3 separate regions of the Homo sapiens genome follow, and all the other regions are linked to region 2. The links are contacts of gene promoters, found by promoter capture Hi-C in blood cells and fetal thymus (Javierre and others, 2016). All regions are on one chromosome and are shown on one strand. The core of a region is centred on a gene start or on the middle of the fragment in contact, and the rest is flanking DNA. Distances in the headings are between cores, read along the strand shown.

Region 1 (3,615 bases), core at 629-3,128, 550 kb before region 2:
CAACGTCACTGAGGCGCCGGGGCCCCACTAATCTACAGACTTATCTGTGCGGAAGGAAGGAAAAAGTAGGGGACACCCAACTTCTCCTGCCTGTTTGTTCCTCTGCACCCTGGGGCTGGCAGAGTTGAAAGGAGACAGATACCCAGTTCGGCCTTCCATCCAACTCTCTTTGCCCCAAAACTCCAAAGGTGCGCGGCCACGACAGTATCTGGGCCACTGGTGTTCGACGTGATTCTCCGTATTTACTAAAGGAGTAAATACGGAGACCTTCCAGCCTTTATAGCACGCCTCTCCCAGCCTTCCTTGGCGGGCCTGGACCAAATCCAACTCGGCCACACACCTCAACGTCTTTCCGGGTGCGGGGAGGCGTGACCCCCCCACCTCCCTCTGCACCCCCTTGTTGATCCGGAAATGAAGGCGTCTAATTTTTAACCGCAGACTGCAGGAGCAGTGCCCGTAGACCCCTTCGGGGCAACACAGGAGAAAACCTGGAAGGGAACCCCCAGGGAATGCCCTTTGAGTTTCCCCTTGTCCCTTCTCTACTTTCAGCCCCCAGTCTCTTCCCAGGAGGGTATGCACACTCTCCCAGGAGGGTATGCACACTCTCCCAGGAGGGTATGCACACTCCCCCTGGAGGGATGGCTGCACAAACGCACTGCCCTAGGGGCTTTTCTTCCAGCACTGGCGCTCCGGAAAATGTTGGGGGTAGGGGGACAACTTCTCACCTAGTTCGCAGAGTCGGCTAAGGTGATGGGGGTTGCAGCACACCAGCTCGGGGTTGATCTTCCCGTAAGATTCACAGCAACACAGCCTCTTGACTTCCGAGGAATGCCTGAGATCCGGCCACCTGAACACTTTGCACAGCAGGAGGGGGAGCGAGTAGGACGAGGGCGGCTGCGCAGGCTGCGCGCCGGCGGGCGCCCCCGGGCCCAGCCTGCAGTCCAGGCGGCCGGGCAGCAGGAGGCACGCGGTGCGCGTCCCGCCGCGGGACTCCACGGCCTGGAGCAGCAGCTCCAGCTGCCGCTCCTTCAGTTTCTTGAGCACCGAGTGCGTGAGCGCCTTCAGATCCGCCTCGGCGCCCCCGGCCGCGCCGGCGCCCGCGGCTGGCGGGTGGGGATGGTGGTGACCTTTGGCACCTCGCACCGCCTTGCCCAGGCAGCATCCAGCCCTGCCCGGGCCGCCGCCACCGGCCCCATGCGCTCGGCTGTCCGTCGCCCCTTCTCCCCGCAGCTCGCCTCCTCCTCCACCTCCCCCTGCGCCCTCCTCCTCGTCCTCGCCGCCGGGCGCACGGCTCCTCCAGAGACGCCGGACGAGCGCAGATCGTTTGGTCCTGAACATGCGGGGCGAGGAGGCGAGGAGAAAAGTCGTTTGCCTGCTAAGGAGCGAACATGACCTCCGCACACCATGAAGAAGTCGGGCGCCGAGTTGGGGCAGCAGGCGCAGGCGACAGCAGCAGCAGCAGGGGCCCGGGCAGGAGCGGCGGCGGCCCGAGGGGCGCTCCGTGGCATGCGCCAGTCTCCCGGAGGCCGGGGCGCGCGCGGGGGCCCGGGGGCGCCCGCCGGGGATCGGGGGCCTGCGCTCCGGCTGCCCCACCCCGCGCGGCCCGCGCCCTGCGCGGCTCTCCGGCCCCGGCGCGCCCCGGAGGAACCCGGCCGCCGCTTCCCTGGGGACGGCCGAGCCTGCCCCCGTCGGCGCCTCCCCAAAAAGAGGCCCCCCCGCAGTGGCTCCCGAATGTCGGGCTCGCCAGCCTCGGCTTCCTACATGGAAGGTCCGCGGGGGCAAAAAACGAAAGGCGTTCGGCTGGGCTGTTGGAAGAAGGAAAAAGCCTCTTTCCCCCTTGCTAAGCAACTTAATTTGGGGGTGGGGAGAAGCAGGCAATTAAAAAAAAAAAAGCAAGCGATTTATTTTTTTCCTCTATATCCTTAGTAACCGGATCTCCTCGAATTCCGCGCACACGAAGACTCAGGGGAGGGGGCCGAGTGGACTTCACCCCGCATGAGACGTCTGGCAAAATAAGAAGGCTCTCGCAAAACCTAACAACCAAATATGCAAAGCCCCAAATGAAAACCACCACCTCCTCGAACCTCAGAGGTCTGGGGGCGTCCGGCTGGAACTGGGGTTTAAAAAAAGAAAATGTTTACAAAGTATAACAAGATGTTTGATGGGTGGAAAAATGTATCCACGAGTTACATCCCCCCGTTTCCTTGCAAAGCCCCGCTGGTCTTCCTCTCCTTTTCTTCTGCCAAAAAAAAAAAAAAAAATCGTGTATTTTTTTAATCCACAGAAAGCTTTGGCTAGACCGCTTCAATCCTGCGCATCTGGGTGGTTTAGGGGAGTCTCTGGTCTTTCCCCCTGCGCTCCTGGGGGCCCAGGTCCTCGGCGGGGACTTCCTCGAGGCTGGCGCGGGCGCAGGGGCAGAAGATGCTGCGGCGGCGGCTGAGCCCGGCGGGGCTGACAGCGCGGGGGAGGGTGGCGCGGCGGCGGCGGAGGGCCCCAGACGGGTCGCGCGTTCTCGCCCCCCCCGGGCACAAGCTGCTTGCTAGTGCAGGGGCCGCCGATGTCCCTTCCCCTGGCCGCGGCTGGCCGCCGAGGCTCCCCGCATGGGCTGCTCGCCTCGACCCAGCTGCGGCGGCAGGAGGCCCCGGTGTCCTCTCGGCGCCTCCTCCTCCGAGACTCTCCTCGTCGCGCCCGGGAGCCTCCTTGTCCCCGGTCCGCCCTCTCCTGGCGCTCCGGTCCTTCTGCCGCCGCCAGGGGCTCGCCGCGCCGCACTCAGGGGCTCAGGGGCCGGGCGCTCGGCGGCTCGGCGCCGACGGACTGGCTCTGTCTCGGGCAGCTCTCTCCCGCGCGGCGAGCGGACCGAGCACGGCGCCCGGCTGGCTCGGCTGGCGCGGCTCGGGGACAGGATCTTCCGTGCGCCGAGCAGCAAGCGAGTGTGCCCGGGGCTCACCGCCTCCCGCAAGGCCTCCCGCCCCCGCCCCCTTCCCTCCCCCTTCCTCCCCCTTCCCTCCCCCGCCCCCAGCCGCCGCAGCCGCGCCGCCTCCTCCCCGCCCCCCCGCACCCCCCCTCCGGCCCTCTGCTCGGCTGGTTCCACTGCGCAGTGGCGCGCCCGGCTCCGGCCTCGTCACGTGGCCGTCTAGACACCCTGTCGCTTTAAAAAAAAAAAAAAAGCGATTGTGTTTCGCAAACAACAGATCGGGTTTCTAAAAGCTATTTCTCCCCCCAACCCCCCGCCACCGCCACCCCCTCCCGGGTCTGTAGAGGGGGTACCGATGGAGGGGAGAGAGATAGGTGGGGGGCAGAGAAGCTCCCAGAATGGATTGAGCCCCGGCCGGAGCCATGGAGAAATTGGAAAAGCAGGGAGCACCGAGCGGGCTTCGCCGCGAGTTTTGGAGCTGAGCGAGCGGGTCGGTGGCCCGATTTCGACCCGGCTGGGTTTCGCGGTGGCCATCTCGCGCGCGCTCGCCCTAGCGCTTCATTCATTGGTTTTGTTTTAAAGGCCCTGGCGGTGGATCCCTTGGCCGCGCCCGAGGGCAAGGGGAGGAGAGCGCTGTCTCGGTTTAAAAGACATTTATACCGGACTGGACCGAGGCCCTGGGAAGTGTGCGCTGAGGGGAA
Region 2 (3,348 bases), core at 627-3,126:
GATCTCCCGGGAGCAGCAGGAAACAAGAAACCCTTAGCCTTTTCAAAGTAATAGCCATTCTCCTCACTGACCTGACAAAGACGGATGTCAAGTGGGCCCTGCAGGAGTTTGACAGTTTGTCCAAACAACTGTTTTTAGTTGAGGCTATAAATTCTTAGGAAAGGGTTTGTCAGTGTGGCACATTAAATCAGTTGGCCAGTATGCATTACTCTGACCATCTTCTTAGAAAGCAACGTCTTTGGGGATTTTCAGATGAGTGAATATTCAATGCTCTGTCTTTTAGCATTATCATCCACTTCCCCTGCCCCTCATAGAATTCTCTTTAGAGGATTGGCTCCTGGGCCTCCAGGAGAGCGGGCAGTAGGGTAGGGTGGTGGGAGGAGAGGAAAGTCTTAATCCCTTGCCAGGGATTTACTTTGTTCTTCTCAGTCGGAGCCTCCCGTACAATGCTGTTTTGAGCTTCACTTAGAAATTGGCTTTATTAGCTAGGAAAGGGGAATTCTTTTCACAACAATCGGAAAATGTAATCCCTTAGTCAGGCGGCTGGAGTCCTTTAATTCACCTCTCCGGACCTTGGGCTGCTGGCTGCTCCTCTCTGCCGCCTGGCTGTCTCTCCCTTACCTCCCAGAGTTAGGGTAATAGCTGACATTTTTCTTCACTAGGCTTTCCTAAGGGATTTCATTCCATTTGTGAGACACTTTAATTCCTGAAGCTGCAAAGTTTGCTTTTTATTACTATAGCTCTACTTATTCTGCATAATTTTATTTATTATTTGTTTATGTATTTATTTTTTGAGACAGAGTCTCGCTGTGTTGCCCAGGCTGGAGTGCAGTGGCGCCATCTCAGCTCACTGCAACCTCTGCCTCCTGGGTTCAAGCAATTCTCCTTCCTCAGTCTCCTGAGCAGCTGGGACTACAGGCACGTGCTACCACGCCCAGCTAAGTTTTGTATTTTTAGTAGAGACGAGGTTTCATCATATTGGCCAGGCTGGTCTCGAACTCCTGACCTTGTGATCCACCTGCCTCAGCCTCCCAAAGTGCTGGGATTACAGGCGTGAGCCACCACGCCTGGCTTATTCTGCATAATTTTTAAGAGTTGTGAATTGTTTTAAGATCAAATTTAAAAGTACATTTTCTTTCTTATCTTGTCATTAACTGATGTTGGGTATGTGTGTGTGCTTGTGATTTCCCTGGCTGGACCAGTGTATAACTTCAAAGAGGGCTGGTGCCTTGCCTTTAGTCTGCTGGATAGCACTCCTCCAGACCCTCCCTTTGCTGAGCAGCTCCGTGGACCTGTGCAAATCTCTACCCAGCTTTGTTGGACAACAAAATACCCTGGAGAATATCAAGCCCTTTAACATACCCAGTTTGTGCTCCCAGACGTAAGATCTCTTTGGCCATGTATGTGGGATTCCCATGAAGGAGAAGCTTCATTTCCAGCAAGAATCTGGCTTCCACCTAGACTTGGGAAACAGATACTGAAAAGCATATTGCTGATCAACTAGACAACCTACTTCCACTCTTGATTGCCCCTGTAATCCATCTAGAACAGCCAGAGCAATTTATTTATTAAAAAATTTAAAATTGGCCAGGTGCGGTGGCTCACGCTTGTATCCCCAGCACTTTGGGAGGCCGGGGTGGCAGATCACTTGAGGCCAGGAGTTAAGATCAGCCCGGCCAACATGGTGAAACCCTGTCTTTACTAAAAATAGAAAAAGTTGCCAGGCAAGATGCCTTACGCCTGTAATCCCAGCACTTTGGGAGGCCAAGGCAGGTGGATCACGAGGTCAGGAGATGGAGATTATCTTGGCTAACACGGTGAAACCCCATCTCTCTCTACTAAAAATACAAAAAATTAGCCGGGCATGGTGGCACACGCCTGTAGTCCCAGCTACTTGGGAGGCTGAGGCAGGAGCATGGCTTGAACCTGGGAGGCGGAGGTTGCAGTGAGCCGAGATCGCACCACTGCACTCCAGTCTGGGTGACAGAGCGAGTCTCTGTCTCAAAAAAAAAAAAGAAAAAGAAAAAAGAAAAGAAAAGAAAAAATTAGCCGGGCATGGTGGTGCGTGCCTGTAATCCCAGGTACTCGGGAGGCTGAGGCAGGAGAATCTCTTGAACCCGGGAGGCAGATGTTGCAGTGAGCCAAGATCGCACCATTGCACTCCAGCCTGGGTGACAGAGTGACTCCATCTCAATAAATAAATAAATAATAAGTAAAATTTTAAAATTATTCAAAAATTTAAGATTATTTATATGTGTTTTATAGAAAGTCAGATATAGCAGGTAAGCAGATTAAGAAAATAAAATCCTTATATTTCCAAAAGATTAAGCTTTAATATATCCTTCTAGTATAGTGTGAGATATATACTTCATGTGTGTATGTATATACATATATACTTACCAGGTGAAATTATACTGTACATGCTATTTCATAATCAGATTTTTTTCCAGTTAATCTCAATTTTACCATGTTGATACATTTTCATCTCTTCTAATACCTAACCTCAATTTCAGTTATCCCAGTTGTTCCCCAAATGTCCTTTCCAGTTGGTTTGTTCAAAGCAAGACCCGCCAGGCACACTGACTCACACCTGTAATCCCAGCACTTTGGGAAGCTGAGGCAGGCAGATCACTTGAGGCCAGGAGTTCGAAACCAGCTTGGCCAACATGGTGAATCCCTGTCTCTACTAAAAATAGAAAAAATTAGCAGGGTGTGGTGGCACACACCTGTAGTCCCAGCTACTCTGGAGGCTGAGGCATGTGAATTGCTTGAAGCTGGGAGACAGAGGTTGCAGTGAGTTGAGATCATGTCACTACACTCCAGCCTGGGTGACAGAGCAAGGCTCTGTCTCAAACAAACAAACAAACAAACAAACCAACCAACCAAAGCAGCCACACACACACAAAAAAACCAGAAACAAAGCAAGACCCAATCTAGGTCCCACATGACATCTGGTTGTTGTTTCTTTTTATTTTATTTTTGAGACAGAGGCTTGCTGTCACCCAAGCTAGAGTGTATTGGCGCGATCTCGGCTCACTGCAACCTCTGCCTCCGGGGTTCAAGTGATTCTCCTGCCTCAGCCTCCTGAGTAGCTGGGATTACAGTCGCCCACCATCACGCCTGGCTAATTTTTGTATTTTTAGTACAGACTGGGTTTCACTATGTTGGCCAGGTTGGTCTTGAACTCCTGACCTCAGGTGATCTGCCCGTCTCGGCTTTCCAAAGTGTTGGGATTACAGGCATGAGCCACCGTGCCTGGCCAGGTTGTTCTCTTTCATAATCAGTTTTAGAATCAGAAAATTTAACATTTACTATAATAATATTATCTAACCTAGAGACCATATTTAA
Region 3 (3,200 bases), core at 1-2,500, 960 kb before region 2:
AAAAAAAAAAAATTGGCCAGGTGTGGTGGCGGGCGCCTGAAGTCCCAGCTACTTGGGAGGCTGAGGCAGGAGAATGGCATGAACCAGGGAGGCAGAGCTTGCAGTGAGCCAAGATCACGCCACTGCACTCCAGCCAGGGCAACAAAGAGAGACTCAGTCTCCAAAAAAAAAAAAAAAGAAAAAAAAACTTAGAAATTCTTTGCTCAAGTATCACTTCCTCCAGGAAGTCTTCCTGACCCTCTCCCAGACCCCACCCACCCTCCATCCAGTTGGCTGCTCCAGGTTGTGTGGTGGGGGGAATTTCACAGCACTTTGTGTTAAGCGCTGACTTATCCCTTGTATAATACTTTCATTGACTGTAGTCCCTAATACTGGACTGAGCTCCTTGAGCGCAGAGACTGTGAGTCTTACCTGTTTTGGCATTCCTAGACACACCTGGTCTGTGGAAAGTGCTCACTAAATGTGAATATAAACTAATGAATAAATGGGTTTCTACAGCAGTTTATACTGCATCACACAGTTCCTCTAATGAATTTCTAGCCCCCTTCCCTGTTGGGGCATACAGTATTTTATTCAGTATTTCTCCTGAAGGCCTCTCTGTGCCAAGCTCAGTTTTAACCAAAACATTGGTGATCTGGTTAAGTCATTACTGAATTATCCACTACGTTGAATTCTCCCAACCACCCCGTCCCAGCCCTTAGCTTGGCCGAAGGAAAATTAATTGGTTGCAAAGTGCGTATCTAATTACAACAGCCAGCCCCCGACACAGAGATGCTCAAATGTTAATTATAACATATGCATCTCAATAACCGACGGTGGCATTTAGTGCAGCATTAATCACGCCACTTGGGCCCCCCAGTGCATACACAAAGCTCCTTTTCATCTGCCATTAGCACAGACTTTGCACTTTCGGCACGGACGTTCTCATCCTTAAAGCCTTTCGGACTCTAAAACCAACGTTTCCCTGTAAGCCTGGACTGCGCCTAAGCCCCCAGTTCTCCCACCGCAGAGGCCCCCACCCAGGGCTGCGCCAGCGCCGTGGGGTCGCTGGGCGGCGGGTTTTGGCGTCGCTAGACTGGGCTGTCTTGGCAGCTAAGGCGACATCCCGAGCGTCCTGGGGCCACCCTGCTCTCCAGGGCCCGCCATCCTGGAAAAGAAAGGCGAACTACATTACCCAGCAGGCCTCCAGCCGCCCTCTTTCCTTTCAAGTCTTTGCACGTGGCCGGAGGGGAGGGCGGGGCCTGAACGTCACTCTCCTACATTCTCTTTCCCTGTGTCAGATCAGGGATCATTTTTTTTCCTTCCTCTACTCCCTCCCCCCTACCCGCCCCTCCCTCCCTGTTTCCCTTCCCTCCCTCCCTCCCCTCTCTGCTGGGTCTGTGCGCTGGGGCGCCCGATCCCCTCCGCAGCTGGGACGCTCCGAACTCGAGGCAGGAGTCGGCTCTCCGGAGCCTCGTCCCTCCCTTCCCCTTCCCTGCCCCCTTCCCCCACCCCCGACTCGGGCTTGGCGCGGCGGCCAGAGGAACCCCGAGGTGAGCATCTCCTCGCCCGTCCTCCTCTTATAGTCATCTCAGCTTGCTGATCGATTCGGGGACCCGGGAGGAGGGCTGCGTGACGTGGGCGTGCTTATAGATAAATCCGGGAAAACCGCCCCAAACAATCAGCCCCCTTCCCCCCATCCCTGCTCCTGGGCCAGCGGGGTGTCCGCACCCATCTACCATCCCCTCCTCCCCCTCGGTGGGGAACTGCACTCCACAGTGTCGCCCCCTCCCTGGGTTTGTCCCATTCCCTGCCGGGTTCCCCGCCCCGCGGGGTGTCGTGGCCCTGGAGCTCCGGCGCCAAGGGGGGCTCTTGGGGGACGCACGGCTGGAGCCCGGCTCGCTTTGGAGCTGCGCGGTGTAGCCGCTGTCATGTGCCGGGTTCCGACCTGGGAGGAGGAAAAGAGCGAGCGCGATTCCTCTCCCTTTTGTTTTGAAGCCCGCATTTGCTGCATCGAGCAGTTGGTTTAGTATCAGCCAAACTTGCAGCTGTTCAGACCGCGCTCCGCCGAGGTAGGGAGCCCGTCTCGGGGTGGCGTTTGGGGGCCGGGGGCTGCGGCACTCGGGGCTGCGGGAGGGACCCCGAGAGTGTGTCGCCACGCCGCCCCTCCCTTCCCCGGTGACTGATTGTGTCTGTGGCAGCGGGCGTGTGTGAGTGTGCGCGCCCGTCCCCGCGGGCTCGGGGATGTCTGTGGATGGCTGTCGTCTAGACAGGGCGCAGCCCCCTCCCTGCGTCCCCGGTGAGCCCGCGGGCCGCGGGGGGAGCGGGGGATGGGAGCAGAGGAAGAAACCAAATCGGTGGACCCGTTGCGGTCTCCCCTTTGGTTATTCCCAACGGTTGTGGTTCTGTTGGCTTTTTTTATTATTCCTGTCGCTGCGGTGCAATCGGGCCTGGGGAATAGATACGCCCGGCGGAGAGGGGTTCACTTGACAGGCTCTGAAAAGCCACCTCTGGGTGGCGAGTGACCCGAGAGGCCGTGGGGTGGGCTCCGGCTCGGGTTCATCAGGACGACGAGCAGGTAACTGTCCCGGGCGCCGGTCATGGGGGAGGGCGGGCGGGGGGGCGATGGCTTGGGCTGCGGCGAAGGTCTGGGGCCTCGGAGGGCCGCGTGCCGGTGCCTGGATGTGGCCGGAGGGGGCGTCCGGGACACCGCGCGCCTGAGCCGAGTGTTTCTCTATTGATGGTAAAAGACAATCGGGAGGGGGGTGGTCCGAGCCCGTTATCTGGGCGGCGTTGGCTCTGTTTGGTTCCGCGGAGTTTTCAGGGTTGGGGCTGGGGGGTGTGAGCACCGCGGGGTGTGCGGCGTGTAGAGGGGAGGGCTGACTGGCGGCGCCGCGTGCGTCTCCACCCCGAGGAGTGAGGCGTCGCCTCCCCCGCCCGGCTGTTTGTGTGTACACACGGCTCCGGTGTGTGTGGGGGGCGGGGACCGCAGACCGCGGCGTAGTGGGGACAAGCGTGGGCCCCGATCCTCCGCGCGACCTGTCCCGCCAGCCCCCTCCTTGTCTAAGTCGGGGTCGTGTGTCCCCGCGCGCGCGCGCCCGAGTTACTTGGAGAGGGGACCGTGCGGCTGTGGGCCGGGGAAGACCGTAGGGTCGCGTGTGCTGGTCTTCGGTGCAGGAGTCCCAGGTCCGCTGTGCGGCCGGAGTCACACAGCCCCTCCC

Evidence for each region. The method cuts DNA at HindIII sites, captures the fragments that hold promoters and counts their contacts. A CHiCAGO score of 5 or more calls a contact.
Region 1: the fragment with the promoter of SMAD7 here is called in contact with a fragment that was not itself captured in region 2 in 1 of 17 cell types (neutrophils); the score reaches 7.3 in neutrophils.
Region 3: a contact is called between the fragment with the promoter of CTIF here and a fragment that was not itself captured in region 2, in 1 of 17 cell types (fetal thymus). The highest score is 5.8, in fetal thymus.

The regions. Positions count from the first base shown.
Region 1 is chr18:48,949,087-48,952,701 of GRCh38, forward strand. SMAD7 (SMAD family member 7) reads right to left here and starts at 1,879. Exons shown (of 4, transcript NM_005904.4): 1 at 726-1,879. The coding sequence starts at 1,338. RefSeq lists silencers at 817-1,136, 2,353-3,052. The HindIII fragment of the contact is 3,263 bases long and covers 1-2,286 here.
Region 2 is chr18:49,500,275-49,503,622 of GRCh38, forward strand. All of the region lies in intron 2 of LINC02837 (long intergenic non-protein coding RNA 2837), which reads left to right. Among named protein-coding and RNA genes, the nearest start is that of LINC02837, 2.6 kb to the left of the region's middle. RefSeq lists an enhancer at 1-546. The HindIII fragment of the contact is 902 bases long and covers 1,426-2,327 here.
Region 3 is chr18:48,537,781-48,540,980 of GRCh38, forward strand. CTIF (cap binding complex dependent translation initiation factor) reads left to right here and starts at 1,251. Exons shown (of 12, transcript NM_014772.3): 1 at 1,251-1,532. RefSeq lists silencers at 1,357-1,436, 1,937-2,296, 2,727-2,816, 3,137-3,200. The HindIII fragment of the contact is 7,178 bases long and covers 1-3,200 here.